Linked DNA regions of Homo sapiens: regions 2, 3, 4 and 5 are each linked to region 1. Evidence: promoter capture Hi-C in 16 types of primary human blood cells and fetal thymus (Javierre and others, 2016). All regions are on one chromosome and are shown on one strand. The core of a region is centred on a gene start or on the middle of the fragment in contact, and the rest is flanking DNA. Distances in the headings are between cores, read along the strand shown.

The links. Contacts are between HindIII fragments. The CHiCAGO score rates a contact against its expected background, and 5 or more counts as called.
Region 2: the fragment with the promoter of CHMP4A here is called in contact with the fragment with the promoter of PIP4P1 in region 1 in 5 of 17 cell types (fetal thymus, non-activated CD4 T cells, total CD4 T cells and 2 more); the score reaches 8.7 in fetal thymus.
Region 3: the fragment with the promoter of PSME2 here is called in contact with the fragment with the promoter of PIP4P1 in region 1 in 1 of 17 cell types (naive CD8 T cells); the score reaches 6.2 in naive CD8 T cells.
Region 4: the fragment with the promoter of DCAF11 here is called in contact with the fragment with the promoter of PIP4P1 in region 1 in 6 of 17 cell types (naive CD8 T cells, non-activated CD4 T cells, activated CD4 T cells and 3 more); the score reaches 13.2 in naive CD8 T cells.
Region 5: the fragment with the promoter of ZFHX2 here is called in contact with the fragment with the promoter of PIP4P1 in region 1 in 1 of 17 cell types (non-activated CD4 T cells); the score reaches 5.4 in non-activated CD4 T cells.

The regions. Positions count from the first base shown.
Region 1 is chr14:20,460,054-20,462,981 of GRCh38, reverse strand. It overlaps PIP4P1 (phosphatidylinositol-4,5-bisphosphate 4-phosphatase 1), which reads left to right and starts at 1,548. Exons shown (of 7, transcript NM_144568.4): 1 at 1,548-1,798; 2 at 2,137-2,327; 3 at 2,684-2,790. The coding sequence starts at 1,657. RefSeq lists enhancers at 884-963, 296-1,261, 1,264-1,333, 1,262-2,228 and silencers at 1,454-1,863, 1,924-2,093. The HindIII fragment of the contact is 6,669 bases long and covers 982-2,928 here.
Region 2 is chr14:24,211,973-24,214,900 of GRCh38, reverse strand. CHMP4A (charged multivesicular body protein 4A) reads left to right here and starts at 1,413. Exons shown (of 6, transcript NM_014169.5): 1 at 1,413-1,492. The coding sequence starts at 1,462. It overlaps NEDD8-MDP1 (NEDD8-MDP1 readthrough), which reads left to right. Exons shown (of 7, transcript NM_001199823.3): 5 at 302-409; 6 at 506-591; 7 at 750-958. The coding sequence ends at 877. MDP1 (magnesium dependent phosphatase 1) reads left to right here. Exons shown (of 6, transcript NM_138476.4): 4 at 302-409; 5 at 506-591; 6 at 750-958. The coding sequence ends at 877. RefSeq lists enhancers at 1-109, 1,264-1,558, 1,195-1,694, 1,122-1,930, 1,885-2,004. The HindIII fragment of the contact is 5,751 bases long and covers 721-2,928 here.
Region 3 is chr14:24,144,934-24,147,861 of GRCh38, reverse strand. PSME2 (proteasome activator subunit 2) reads left to right here and starts at 1,252. Exons shown (of 11, transcript NM_002818.3): 1 at 1,252-1,328; 2 at 1,622-1,654; 3 at 2,090-2,152; 4 at 2,397-2,483; 5 at 2,589-2,619; 6 at 2,707-2,804. The coding sequence starts at 1,281. RNF31 (ring finger protein 31) reads right to left here and starts at 364. Exons shown (of 21, transcript NM_017999.5): 1 at 1-364. The coding sequence starts at 163. RefSeq lists silencers at 97-326, 357-446, 1,147-1,206 and enhancers at 288-582, 129-629, 767-836. The HindIII fragment of the contact is 5,988 bases long and covers 1-1,571 here.
Region 4 is chr14:24,113,386-24,116,313 of GRCh38, reverse strand. It overlaps DCAF11 (DDB1 and CUL4 associated factor 11), which reads right to left and starts at 1,537. Exons shown (of 15, transcript NM_025230.5): 1 at 1,021-1,537; 2 at 565-932. The coding sequence starts at 719. NRL (neural retina leucine zipper) reads left to right here and starts at 1,365. Exons shown (of 3, transcript NM_001354768.3): 1 at 1,365-1,592. RefSeq lists enhancers at 1,458-1,607, 1,848-1,987, 1,569-2,284. The HindIII fragment of the contact is 1,852 bases long and covers 278-2,129 here.
Region 5 is chr14:23,550,326-23,553,253 of GRCh38, reverse strand. ZFHX2 (zinc finger homeobox 2) reads left to right here and starts at 1,489. Exons shown (of 10, transcript NM_033400.3): 1 at 1,489-1,911. It also overlaps a transcript of THTPA not described here. RefSeq lists enhancers at 1,136-1,185, 2,035-2,697 and a silencer at 1,316-1,555. The HindIII fragment of the contact is 16,619 bases long and covers 1-2,928 here.

The DNA.
Region 1 (2,928 bases), core at 299-2,798:
TATCTGGAGCTTCCTTAGTTCTTTAAGTGTCTGTTAGGGGCTCTTATCTAACTGGTCGAAGGTTACTAGCTTCCAAGTAGAAGTTGGCCTGAGAAAACCCTGTCTAAAAAAATCAGGACCTAGGTGAAGTCTCCAGCCCCTGTAGCAGCCAAGTGCTGGGACATCTGCAGTTCCTTTGTTATTACATATTTGGGGCTGGCTGTACTTTCTTTGATGCACTTCCTTTCTTAGTGGAGAGTCTGCTAGCCAAACTGATAATGGACCTCCTCGGGGTTTATTGTTTTTATCAATTCCTTGTTGCTTCCCATATTTAAAGCAGTCCCAGTTTGGGCTATGACTTGGGAAAAAATCCAGGTGTGGTTCAGGCGCCCATAAAGACCACACGAGACTTCAGGTAGGGGAGGAGGCACTGCCCCTTTGCTGGAAGCAAAGTTGAGACAGGCCTAAAGACTGTCCCATCTGTCAAATAAGGTGACGAAAATAACCTTGTATTTGATTAATCCAATCTACAAACTTGTGCGTATGTTAAAGGTTGGTGGTCATAAAACTGAGTAAAGGCACGGTGGCTTGTCCCTGTAGTCCCAGCTACTGGGAAGGCTTAGGCAGGAGATCAAACTCAGGAGTTTGAGTCCAGCATAGGCAAGACCCCATCTCTATTGAATTTTTTTTTTTTTTTTTTTAGTAAAACGATGAAATCTTCTAGTAGTGGAGACACTAATGAAAAGATAATTTAACAATTTGATCAGCAATGGGGAAAGACGGGGCTCTGTAAGGACAGCTTCCAGGAAAACCCAGTCTTGTGTCCTGTCCTGAAAGTGACTCTAGCGACAAAGGCTGGAGTGATAATCTTAACTTTTTAATCCATTTCCTTCTGGTACCTCATTACTCTGACTTTTTAAAGGTACTTCTTTGAGTAGAACAGCTAACTTTGTCTACTGTTCCCCACCGTCCATTTTCTCCCCGCTCAGAAGATCCCAAGCTTCCGCACTCCTTTATTGCACCCGCCCAGCCTCCTTTAAAATGCATAAGCCACGCCCCCCATGTTCTGGCGCTAAGTTCGGGCCAATGCAGTTGCGCCGCTAGGATCACAGGACGAAAGAAGTAAAGTCACCAGCCAATAGGAAACCAGCTACAACGCAAAGCCGGAGAAAAGTGTTTTAGTGGTGTCTTTGAACCAATGAGGAGCAGAGCAACAGGGACCGTGCAGCTTCCAGAAACACGTGACCAGTTGAGCAGACGCAGCCTAGCCCTACCTCCTGGTCTGGAGGTAGCGCGATGGGCGTCGCTCCCAATAGCTTGCAGAACCTCTAGTCACGTGCAGGTTTTGCAAGCCCAGCAGCATCTGGCAGGTCATGTGACAGTTGACGTTTGTGCGTCGCTCCCCAATGGAAAAGGAGAGCTGCCTTCACAGGACCAGGAATTGGTTTATCTACGCGAATAATAGCATGACCCGGGCGGGGATAGCCTATCACGTGCTGCTAGACGGAACGGGGCGGGGCAGGCCACTGGTTGCGGAGTGAGCTGGGCGCGCGGCGCGCAGGCGCCCTGGGGACCCGGTAGCGGCGGTGGCGGTGGCGGCGGTGGCGGTGGCTGCGGCGACGGCAGAGGCGAAGGGAGCCGGATCGCCGACCTGAGCGGGAGGCGGCGGTGGCGGCCATGGCGGCAGATGGAGAGCGTTCCCCGCTGCTGTCTGAGCCCATCGACGGTGGCGCGGGCGGCAACGGTTTAGTGGGGCCCGGCGGGAGTGGGGCTGGGCCCGGGGGAGGCCTGACCCCCTCCGCACCACCGTACGGAGCCGGTAAACATGCCCCGCCCCAGGGTAAGCCGGGGCGGGTCCGAGGTGCTCCCCGGGGTACTCTGAAAGCCGGGGAGGGGGCGGGACCGAGGGCGGAGGCGGGTCCCAGTCGCCAGGTGCGGGACTGCTGCACCTGTGACTGGGCGAGGCTTCCTTCCCTCCGTAATCGCGACCACAGCCTAGGGACGGAAGGGGGTTCTGAGCAACCTGATAGAAGTGCCAATTATGAGAAGCCCTCCGAGCTTGGTCAGAGGGTTGAAGATCAGAAGGACTTCCCTACCACCGTGGAGCATCAGTGGGGGTGTAAGTGATCCCAGCCCTTCTATTTGCTTCCTCTCCAGCATTTCCCCCGTTTCCCGAGGGGCATCCAGCCGTGTTGCCTGGGGAGGACCCACCCCCCTATTCACCCTTAACTAGCCCGGACAGTGGGAGTGCCCCTATGATCACCTGCCGAGTCTGCCAATCTCTCATCAACGTGGAAGGCAAGATGCATCAGCATGTAGTCAAATGTGGTGTCTGCAATGAAGCCACCGTGAGTTACACATATCTATGAAATGGGCCCTGTTTCCTGGATCCTCTTTCTGATGTCTTGGTTCTAGACCCTGACCTTCCGGCTATTAGCCAAGTGCTTTTGATGATACCCAGGTTTCAGTTCCAGGTGTCTCACACAGCCATTTCCCCAGAAGCCACTCACCAAAGCTAATGTTCACTTTCTCTCACTTTTACACCTAGCCTAGTTCCTATTTGCAAATCTCATGATATAGTCTTTCTTTTATTTCTCCTTCCTGGTTAGCACCTTATTTTTCTGATCTCATAAAGTGTTTTTGGAGGGAAGTGGAGGGGATTGGGATTAGAGGTTTGCTTGCTGATGACCCTATTATTCTCTAGCCAATCAAGAATGCACCCCCAGGGAAAAAATATGTTCGATGCCCCTGTAACTGTCTCCTTATCTGCAAAGTGACATCCCAACGGATTGCATGCCCTCGGCCCTACTGGTAAGAGGCATAAGGTGGGGAAGGGCCTAAGTGGGGAACTGGAAAGTCAAAAAAGGATGAGCGTATACAGAGAATGTAAAGGTGAGAGAGCCTAGTGTTTATTTAGGAGAAAAGGCTTTGAAGCATGTGCCTCAGGAA
Region 2 (2,928 bases), core at 164-2,663, 3.8 Mb before region 1:
TGAGGTGGGAGGATCACTTGAGCCCAGGAGGTCGTGACCACAGTGAGCCGTGATTGGGTCGCTGCACTCCAGTCTGGGCAACAGAGCTAGACCCTGTCTCAAAACAAAAGCTAAAACATTGGCCCAGCACCAATTGTGTCAAATAGGAAGGCAATGGAGTTAAACAGAGGCTGAGGATGCCTGTCCATCCCGGAAAAACAGCAAGTTGATTTCCCTGGTTATACTTACTAACTTTGCTTAATAAGTTAACGTAGCCCTGGCCCTTCACTTTGCTAATCCCATCTTTTACACCGTTTTGCAGGACAAGTGAGATAGAAGGGGCCAACCAGCTACTGGAGCTCTTTGACCTCTTCAGGTACTTTGTTCATCGGGAAATCTATCCAGGCAGCAAGATCACACACTTTGAGAGGTATGCGGAGATAAGGGAGGAGCAGGGTGAGAAAGTATCAGAGAGGCCTGGGAAACCAAGATACTAGCTTGGTTACTCCTGCCCTGTCTTGAATAGGTTGCAGCAGAAGACTGGAATTCCTTTCTCCCAGATGATCTTCTTTGATGATGAGAGGCGGAATATTGTAGACGTCAGCAAACTGGGTACTGAGTGATGAGGAACAGCCATTTGGGGTCCCTAGGAGGGATTAGGTAGATACATACAGGTTGGATAGTTTGCCCTATAGGTGGCACTCACAAAGGTCAGAGTAATAATGGAGAACCCTGAAAGCTTAATGAAATGTGACTTCTTATCTTTCTAGGTGTTACCTGCATTCACATCCAGAATGGAATGAATCTTCAAACTCTAAGTCAAGGGTTAGAGACATTTGCGAAGGCCCAAACTGGGCCTTTGAGGTCCAGCCTTGAGGAGAGCCCATTTGAGGCCTAAACTGAAAGGAAATCAAGAAGGCATTTTCAGGTGCATTTGTAATTTATTAAAGTTCATCTGTGTGTGACAGAAGAGATTTTACCCACAGTGTGGGGAGTTTCTATTTTTCTAGCCTGTGAAATGGGGTTGGTTGTCCTGAGGTGCAGAGACCAGAATGTGAGACATTAGACTGCATCAGGTTTGCCATCTAAACTTAGGGCAACCCCAAGTGCTTGAACCTATACCACCCCACTTTCCTGAGCTCTGTAAAGAGCATGAAGTTTTCCCACTGACCCCATACACTGAGGTGCCATCACACTGCACATTTCCTTCCGGAGAACAAGCACGTACTCAGGTGGAGATAGAACTGTCTTTTTACTTAATAGAAAATGATGTGGCAGCTTTAAGAGGAGCGCGTCGGTCTGGGGCTGGTGGCTTGGGTCACGTGACACCGGTGGTCTCGTTTGCGCCTCTTGATGTCGCGGCGGCGCCCTGAGGACGGATTGGGCAAGGCTGGTCCCTGTGTGATGAGACATCACCCTCCCAGGAGCAAGGCGGAAGTCTGGAGGACGCTGAGGGGCGGAGGCGGGAGAGGCGAGCTCGCGATGAGTGGTCTCGGCAGGCTCTTCGGGAAGGGTGAGCCAGGGTGGGACTGGCCAGCCAGGAGGCGCTGGCTGGTGCAGGGGAAGAGGAGACCCCGGCGAGATTCGGCCGGACCGCTGCGCCGGGCAGGGGAAGAGAATCAGGAGACAGGCTGACTGGAAAACCCCGGCGGCCGATGGCGGAGCAAGGCTCATCGCCGGTGCCAAAAGGCACACCATGTCGGGGCGCCTTGTTCCCGTCCGCCGTCCTCCCCCACTCTCAGAGGGAAGAACTCAAGATCTGGGAGGGGACTTGAGTTGAGGGCGTGGCGATCGTGCTGACTCCCACTGTTCAGGCTTGAAGACGAGTTTCCTGCTGTCTTCAGCCATTTTCAAAACCTTGTTCTATAATACTTTGTGCTGGGCAAGAGGGATCTAAGGTGAAGAAGAAAGACTGCCTTCTTAGCCCGGCGCGGGGGCTCACGCCTGTACTCGCAACACTTTGGGAGGCCGACGTGGGTGGATCATGAGGTCAGGAGTTTGAGATCAGCCTGGCCAATATGGTGAAACCCCGTCTCTACTAAAAATATAAAAATTGGCCGGGCGCGGTGGCTCACGCCTGTAATCCCAGCACTTTGGGAGGCCGAGGTGGGTGGATCACCTGAGGTCAAGAGTTCGAGACCAGCCTGGACAACATGGTGAAACCTTGTCTCTACTAAAAATACAAAAAAAAAAAAAAAATTAGCTGGTTGTGGTGGCACGCGCCTGTAGTCCCAGCTACTGGGGGAGGCTGAGACAGGTGAATCGCTTGAACCCAGGAGGCGGAGGTTGTAGTGAGCCAAGATTGCACCAATGCACTCCAGCCTTGGTGACAGAGGGAGACTCCATTCTCAAAAAAAAAAAAAAAAATTAGGTGGGCATGATGGTGTGTGCCTGTAGTCCCAGCTACTCAGGGAGGCTGAGGCAGGAGAATCACTTGAACCCGGGAGACGGAGGTTGCAATGAGCTGAGATCATGCCACTGCACTCTGGCCTGGGCAACAGAGCGAGACTCTGTCTCAAAAAAAGAAGTCCTGGCGCGGTGGCTCATGCCTGTAATCAAAACACTTTGGGAGGCCGAGGCGGGCAGATCACCTGAGGTTGGGAGTTCGACACCAGCCTGACCAACATGGAGAAAGCCTGTCTGTACTAAAAACACAAAAAATTAGCCAGGCATGGTGGCACATGCCTGTGATCCCAGCTATTTGGGAGGCTGAGGCAGGAGAATTGCTTGAACCCAGGAGGCGGAGGTTGAGGTGAGCTGAGATCACGCCATTGCGTTCCAGCCTGGGCAACAAGACTGAAACTCTGCCTAAAGAAAAAAAAAGAAAGGCAGCTAGGAATAGTAAAAAGAATATTGGTTTTAGAACTCATACTGCCACATCTTGATTCCTGCACAATCTCTTATTAGTTGTGATTTTTAACATCTTTGTGGTTGTTTTCACATTTTTAA
Region 3 (2,928 bases), core at 3-2,502, 3.7 Mb before region 1:
GTGCGGCGTCCAGCTGCAGGTAGCGGGCGGCTAGCGGCAGAGAGCTGGCTAGTAGCGGCCGGAGCTGCTCCAGGGAAAACGCCTGCCCGGAATCCCTCCTCAGGGCGCTCGCCAGCTCCTCGCGGGCCACCAGGAAGGCCCGCTCCTCTTCCTCCCCCGGCATCCTGAGGCAGGAGTCAGCCCCAGCCTCGCCGCCCGCCAGGACCCGGCGCGGGCAGCGCGCGGCCCGAGCGCCGCCCCTCCCGTCTGGTGCCCGGCTTTGAGGCCCACCCCGGCCCACGCAGCCGCCCCAGGTCACTCAGACCACGGTCACTCTCCAGCCCCCGGCCCAGCGCCAGGGTTAGCCGAGAACAGGAAGTACTAGGAGAGAGGGTGGGACTGCGACCCAATTTCGGAGGAACGGGCGGGGCTTAAGGTTAAGGTTGGAGCGGTGTCAGGAAACCAGGGGGCGCGGCCAAGAGGGAGGGCCAGGTCCCAACCAATGAGAAGGCAAATGGCTCCTGGCTCCTCCCTCAGAGCGCGCCAGCATCTTCCCTCAGTCAAGCGCTCTTCCCCGCCTTCCCCCAATCTGGTTCCACCCCTTCCGGATAGCCGCAGGCGCGGGGTTATCCTATTCAGCTCAAAACCTTTCTTTTTCTAGCTGGACCAGTCCGGTACGCTCCGGGCCTCACCGAGGAAGTCCCACCCTGCAGGGGAACCGACTCTGGCCGGCCCTAACCCCTCTCGAGCGAGTCCCGCCCCATCTCCGGTCTGTCCTGAAGGCAGAGGGAAGACCCTCACCCAACCCCTGCCCGCTCTCTTCTAAGAGCTGCTAGTCCTTCTCCACCCCAGGCGCTCCCTCTGGCTGCCCCTCCCACTCGCTCTGATCTCTCTCCGTCCGCTACTTGCGGTCGAGCCTTCTTGGGGGAGCCCCGCCACTGAATACCCCCTTTGCCATACTCCCACCTCTCTTACCCCAACCCTGGACTTCCAGTTGGCCCTAGCTATAAGCCCCGCCCCTCTCCGAGGGACAGCCCCCGCTCCAGTCTCCGCGGTCCCACTTACCCTAGCCCCTCCCTCGGGCAGCCCCTGGACTGTGACCCAGCCAGCACCGCCTCTCCTAGTGGCAACTGGCTGGGAATGGCTGAGGGGCTACCTACTGCTTGCGGCCTGCCAGCGGGAGGAGGGGGGCGGAAAGAAGAAAGGGGGCGGGGTTGAGGGGGGCGGGCCTGGACCTGGGGAGTGAAAGCGAAAGCCCGGGCGACTAGCCGGGAGACCAGAGATCTAGCGACTGAAGCAGCATGGCCAAGCCGTGTGGGGTGCGCCTGAGCGGGGAAGCCCGCAAACAGGTAATGGGGAATCGGAGGCCAGGAAGGGGTCATAGAACCCTCTTGGGTGGAGGCCAAGCTGGGTGGTTCAGGGGACCAAGCAGTGCCAGAGAACTCCCCCAATCTCGCTAGTGCCTTCACTTCTCGGGGATTCCCAGATTCCTGCCTTCTGACTGCAGTGAGCAGGAGCTTCCAGGGAAAGCTAGTTTGTGGTGAGAAAGGCCTGAGCCACAGTTCGAGGGCACCCTGTTGTGGGTGGAAGCTTTTGACAACCCAGACCCTTAACCAACATCCGGGTACTGCTCTCTGTGTAGGTGGAGGTCTTCAGACAGAATCTTTTCCAGGAGGTAAGTCTCTGGATTTGAGCGATTTGACCCAGAATCTTGGACCAATACTTGAGGATAACAGCCTCTCAGAATGACCCCCCCAAGTCACCCTAGACTTAACCCTACTTCCCTTACCAAGCCTTCACCCAAAGTAACCCCGGAATTATTGATAGCTACCTTTAATCTGACCTTTCTTATGACTCTCCCGACTTCTGGCACTTCTCCCGTCTTTTGATGTGGAGGAAAAAAACCATGGCTTCCAAAGCAGGAATATCACAGTCCTAACCTTCGTTCTGCCATTTACCAGCTTGGGCAAGTCCTTTCATTTTCAGGTCTTCAGTTTCCTCATTTGCAAGTCTTGGACCCAGTGATTTCCAAAGGCCCTTCCAGTTCCATTTGTCAGACATCTCATTGAGCATATTCTGTGATTCCCCTCCCTTGCAATGTAACCCACAGGCTGAGGAATTCCTCTACAGATTCTTGCCACAGAAAATCATATACCTGAATCAGCTCTTGCAAGTGAGTAGTGTGGGCCCCTTCTGCCCCATCCTATGTCCTCTATCCCCTTTGCCCACCCTCTCTAGCTAACAACTGGATTCAGCATGCAGAGAATAGTTTCAAATAGTGGATTAGGAACATTAGGATGGCGTGAGGCATGAGCCTAGGTTGGGAGGCAGAGTGCAAGTGGGATGTATGGAGGGAAGGCTGTGACCTAGGATGAAGGGAAGAGGTTGGGCAGCCCTTGACAGTGAGCTCTGTGCAGGAGGACTCCCTCAATGTGGCTGACTTGACTTCCCTCCGGGCCCCACTGGACATCCCCATCCCAGACCCTCCACCCAAGGATGATGAGGTGAGGCACTCAGGGTGCAGGACTTGGACTATAAACCCAATGGAGAAGATAGCCCTTCAACCTCTGTGACTTTTCTAAAGCTACTTTCCCCCCTTTTTGCCTTAGATGGAAACAGATAAGCAGGAGAAGAAAGAAGGTAAGAGAGATAAGAGGTGACTAGGGAAGGGGTGATGGCACACTGACTACTGGATGAGAAAGGGCCTGAATCCCCTCTTTCTCACAGTCCATAAGTGTGGATTTCTCCCTGGGAATGAGAAAGTCCTGTCCCTGCTTGCCCTGGTTAAGCCAGAAGTCTGGACTCTCAAAGAGAAATGCATTCTGGTAAGCCTGGGAAATGGGGGAAGCAGAAAGAGAAGACACACAAGGTGAGGCCCTGGACTCCTCCGTAGATACAAGTCCTTCATACAGAGACCTAGTCCTGAAAAAGAAAACTTCCTTCTGTGCC
Region 4 (2,928 bases), core at 288-2,787, 3.7 Mb before region 1:
CCCCAAACCCATCTTCTCCTCAAAGAGCCATAAGCAAAGAAAGAAAGCCAGCTGCACCCTTTTCCAGTCAATTCCAGGTGGTCTCTCCCTTCAAGGCATTCTTTCCTCAAGAACAGGTTAGAGTCAGGGCAAATTAAACTTGTTTTTCAAGTAAATCGAAGTGGCCTCATATCATGTGTCAACTGCCTTACTAAAAAGTTCAACACTCCCTTCCCATCTCTTCACCCCTTACATCACTCCTTTCCCACTAGGACCCCCCCCTTTTTTTTTTCAAGCTTACTTGGAAAATAGACTATATTTGTGTAGTCACAGAGACAGGCTCCCTTGAATAGCCCCTCAAACACATGAGCAGGTCCTCTTGGTGACCCTCCCTAGGTAAGAACCACTCTTACTGGGTATGGAGCTGAGTGCCATGGGTGCCCAGCAGGGAAAGGCTGTTCAGCTCAAACAGAACAGCTGTCCTGAGCGAATCCCATTTCCTAACCTCTGTAATTTTCCTGCCTGGAGTTGGGATCAAGGCACTGTGGTAGCACCTGCTGGGGGTCACACCAGAGGGTAAGTTACCTGCGGAGGAGATAGGCCAGTACCTGGGCCAGATCCACATCTTCATCCTCTTCTTCCTCTTCCTCACTCCGACGCAGGCCAGCCCCTCTTCGGGGCAAGCCCTCGGAGGGGTCTCCGGACCCGGATCCTGCACTGCTGCTGTTCCGCGATCCCATCTTCTGGTCACAGCATTCTTAGGTCCTGTGCGGGGGCTCCTCCTGTCACCTCCTTGGGTTTGGTGAAAGCAAAGCGTGCTCTAGAAATACCAGGGTCTCCTGAGACGGGGTAGTAGCTATCTCTAGGAGGGTGACCCTTCCTCGGGGCTGAGATCCCTTTTCTTTAGCCTATGCCAACTACCAAGGCGTCGGGAACACAAACCTTCTCCAATCCTGTGAAGCAAAGAAAGCAAGAGTGAACCGTAGTGCGCTACCCTAGCTCACCAACTGAAGAAAGATTTGTTTTCTACACCAAACTCACCTATCGAAGTCCCCGGACTGGGGAGCGGGAGGGGTGTTGGGCGGTGTTGGATTTCCAGGTAACCTCTCTGACCGACCAATCGAAATCCCTCTCGGAAGAAAGCGCTTCACTAGCTTATCTCATCTAACCAATTAGAAGCCTTAGGACTCAAAGACCCTCGACGCCCCCACCTTATCGACCAATCAGAGCGCCCCCTTACAAAGGCCGGCAGCAGTGACAGCCAATGAAAATAGAATTTGGCCTAACACCCCTCCTTCCTCGCCTCACGCCCACGTGGTGCGCCGGGGGTGTGTACGCCATGAGGGGGAGGAAGCCGAGAAGCACCTCCCACTGAAGCCGGCGGTAACCGCCCCACGCGAGACCACCCACCAGCCAGGAGCGGTCGCAGGACCCGCAGCGGCGCGAGGCCTTGTTTACACCGACTGCCGCCACTGCGTTGGCCAACCGCTCCTCCGTCACGCGCTTCGCTCGTCACGCATCTCGCGGCTTCCTGGCCGGCGGGCTGCAAACGTCACACGACGGCCCCGCCCCCTTGGCCAGCCAACTGGACAGCGGAGCACGATGATTGATAGGTAGGCGGGAGAATGCGCGAGGTGCCTGAGGGGAGGAGAAAGTGCACACCCAAGGAGGGCTGTTAGCTCTTGCTGGGGAGGAGTAAGTGGGAACTGCCAGCTTCCTGAATCAGAGACAGCCGAACTAGGCGTAACGGCTGAGAGGCGGGGCTTAAAAAAGAAACGTTTGGTGGTTCGCTACCGAGAGGTATTTTAGCAAGGGATATAATTTACTGTCTGTCCCTAAAGATCATTTGGCATCGCACTTTTCAGACAGTGCCCAAGGGCCTCCTTTCTCCCCACTGCTTCCCCTGTCCAGCTGGAGCCGTTCTTCTGTCGCTGGCCGCAGCTCCAGTCGGTTCTGCCCTAAGGGGTGCCCAGCGTCCCAGTAGACCTCCATACCGTCCTTCCGGGCTTAGCTTTTGGAAGCCTTGCTCTTGGGACGGTCCCCTTTTAGACCTCCCTTTATCCGGTCTGACAATTTTTTAAGACAATCCCTGGCTTTCCGCCGCGGTCTTTGCAGACGTTCCCTAATACACGCGTCTTTCTGTCAAAGCTTTTCCGGTTCCGCTGTCCCCTTTGACGCTCCCTTGGCCCTCCGGGATTTGCAGACCTTCGCTAGTCCCTCTGTCCTCGCGGTGCCTCTCCGCCCCCGGCCGCGGGTCCAGGGTGCGCGCTCGCCGCCTCCTGCCCCCTCCTGCCCCCTCCTGCGGGTTTATGAGTAACAAGCCTGAGTCCAAGGCCGGGAGTTGCCACATCTCTGATCCTCGCCCTGGCTGGGTGGGGACGTGTGGGTTGAATGACCTTGCTGTCTCGGGCTCAGAGGCTCAGGGTCCGAGCTGAACTTCATTCCCTGCAGCCTGCACTTCCTTGGGAAAGCTGCGAGCTTCCCTCCGCCCGCTCCTGAGGGCAGGGATGGGAGCGAGGGCTCGTGGCCTTCTTGGGCCCTCCTGGGGCCTCTCCCAGTGAGGGCGAGGGTTTGGCCAGCTTTCGGGCGACGTCTCCTAGTCTCTAGATCCGGAGACCTGAGCTTGTCACCAGGGCTAGCTTTGATGGCCTCTGCGCTTAGAAGGGTCCTGAATGTTTGGTTTAATGTTCTAGTGTTAACGGTCTTGAAATTATTAGTAATTTTAAAGCAAGTGCCTGGTATTTTCATCTTGCACTCGGCTCCACTGATTATGTAGGCGGTCTGCTGGGCGCCCATCCTCTATTGCCAGATTACTTACTATCTGTGCTTTAACGTTTATTGAGACTTTAGGATTCCGTGGTTTCTGGGTTATCCAGCCTGGAAAATCGGGATCTTTATTTATTGATTGATTTTACCTGCGTTCTCCCAGAATGTGACGGAATCATTTTT
Region 5 (2,928 bases), core at 240-2,739, 3.1 Mb before region 1:
AAACTGTCACATAGTATAAACTCAAAATGTTCATTTATCTCTCCTTTTTGTCATGTGAACTTCAGGGTTTTGTTGTGTTGTTTAAGAGAAGTAGGCTATAGCAGTTAGTATGGGCCCTGGAGCCAGACCATGGAGGTTTTTGAGTCCTGGCACTGTCACTTACTTATTGGCCATTGGACCTTGGGCCTGTTAATTCACTTGTTTGTGCCTTAGTTTCCTCAATAAATGAGACTATAATAGCATCTACCTCATGCTTGAGGTATTGAGAGGAGTAAACAATGTATGTAAAAGTGCTTGGAACTGTCCCTGTGCATTCAAGAAATCTTAAAAATTATTATTAGAATACAGGAGCGGCCGGGTGAGGTGGATCACCCCTATAATCCCAGGACTTTGGGAGGCTGAGGCCGGTGGATCACCTGAGGTCAGGAGTTCGAGACCAGCCTGGCTAAGATGGTGAAACCCCCGTCTCTACTAAAAATACAAAATTAGCAGGGCATGGTGGTGGGCACCTACAATCCCAGCTACTTGGGAGGCTGAGGCAGGAGAATCACTTGAACCTGGGAGGTGAAGGTTGCAGTGAGCCGGGATCATGCCACTGCACTGCAGCCTGGGCGACAGAGTGACTCTGTCTCAAGAAAAAAACAAACAAACAAAAAAACGGGCTGGGCGCGGTGGTGGTTCACACCTGTAATCCCAGCACTTTGGGAGGCCGAGGCAGGCGGATCACAAGGTCAGGAGTTCGAGACCAGCTTGACCAACGTGGTGAAACCCCGTCTCTACTAAAAATACAAAAATTAGCTGGGTGTGTTGATGCATGCCTGTAATCCCAGCTACTTAGGAGGCTGAGGTAGGAGAATCGCTTGAACCCGGTGGTGGAGGTTGCAGTGAGCCGAGATCGCACCACTGCACTCCAACCTGGGCGACTGAGTGAGACTCCGTCTCCAGAAAAAAAAAAAAAAAAAAAATTCAGGAGCACTTAATAAGCGATAAACTGAAGATGAGGAGGAGCCCGAACCTCCCCCAACCCAGCTCAGGGGACTATGTAACCGTGTGGAGGAGGCAGAAGCTCTCAGAGACTAAAGAGTAATTGCTGCGGTAGAGAAGGTTCTAGTACCCAATTTCGCGGGGGGAGATGGGGGAGGCGGAATAATAAGGCAGGAAGAAGAGAATGAAAAAAGGAGGCCTTGGGCGGCTCAGGGCTTGTTCTGAAGCTGATTTAAAACAAAACAACAAAACACATGTATGGTTTCTGCAGGCCACAGGATGAAGAGGAGAGGAGACGGAAAAGAGTTTAAAGGGGCCTGCCCTCTTTGCAGGCACCGGCTTGAACCTGGAGGCGACCTGGTGGGCTGGCCGGCCTGCCCCCGGCCCTGGGTCCCGCGAGGCAGGCGGGCGGGCGCGAACAGACTACAACTCCCGGCATGCGCCGCGGCGGGCGGGTCGCTGCACCTGCTCAGTGGGGCAGCCCCGGGCGCCTGGGTATTGATTATTCCATTGTGTGGGACGCCTAGACTCCAGCCAGTGAATGAGGCGGAGGAGTGAGGGCGAGGAGGAGGAGGAGGAGGAGGGCGAGGAGGAGAAGGAGGAGGAGGAGGAGGAGGCAGGGAGCGAGCGAGTGCCCAGGGTGAATCAATGGAAACCCCCTCACGAAGCCGGGGAAACACTTCAGCCGCAGCCAAATAGCATTGATTATTTTCCTTCACTTCCCTCACCGCCGTGAATTTATTTATTTATTTTTTTCCGTCTCCGTCCCTGACGCCCCGGAGCGAGCGCTGGAGGGAGGGAGGAGGAGGGGAAAAAAGAGGAATCAACACATCGGAGAAGTCCCTTCCAAGAGCCGCCCCCTCCCCTCCCCGCCTCGCGCTGCTCGGTGGCCGCGGTTCGACTCCCGTCCCTGCTTCCAGCTGAGGTGTAAGTGCATCGATTTCCGATGCTGCTGGGTTGGTTTTTTTCTCCTCTCCCTCTCTCTCTTCTTCCCTTCCTTGCTCTTTGGAAGCTCGAGACGGGAGAGGAGGCGCTTGGAGACTGCCGCTGGAGGGGACGGAGAGGGACGGGAAGGGGCTGGGGGAGGGGACAAGGACGGACGGACAGACAGACCGAGAGCCCTGGGAGATAGCAGACAGGGGTGTGGGAGGAAGAGGGCGTGCGCGAGGATGGGGGAAGAGAGATGCGGGGGTGGAGGGAGAAACGGGAACGGGAAAGGCAGAGGCCCGCCGGACAGACGAAGGGTATGGAAAGCCTAGACGGACCGCGCCGAGTTGGGCAGGGAGCGGGGATCCCGGGGGGAAGGGGAGGCCCGGTGAGTGTGAGGGCTCAGAGCTGTCAGCCTGGAGGGTCCTGGGTCTCGGCGGCCCCCCGCCGGCTGTGGGATGGGAGAACCGCGGCCGGCGGGCTGATGGATGGGCTAGCGCGCTGGGGCGTGGAGTGGGAGGGGACGTGGATACTCTCAGTCTTCGTTCGTTTTTGGCTGAAGTTGGGCTTTCCATTCCTTTTTTTGAAAGTGTTGAGTAGGTGAGGGGAGGCCATAAGCCCATTCAAGGTGAAGCGTGTCTGTCCTGCACGCCCATCCTACCACCCCCATCCGCTCGTCTGCCCCTCTGAGCAGCCCTATCATTTTCAAGCACAGGACCACGCTTCCTCGCTGTGCCTGTAGCCCCGCTGATCTCTGTCCATGTGTCCCTGACTTTTGGTTTTGCTGTTCTTCATCTTGTCTCTTCCATCCCATCCATCTCTGGATCTGTATGTCACTGTCTCCACTTGTGACCCTTCCCATCTGAGTGATCCTCTCCTTGTGTGTCTCTATCACTATGTGTCACGCCTTGGCTGCCTGTTCTGTCGGTCTAGGATTCCATGCCCTCTCCTTCAGAGTCTGTCTGGATATCTCTGGCCTTTTCAGGCTACTTTGGAATTTGCTTATCAGTCATGATT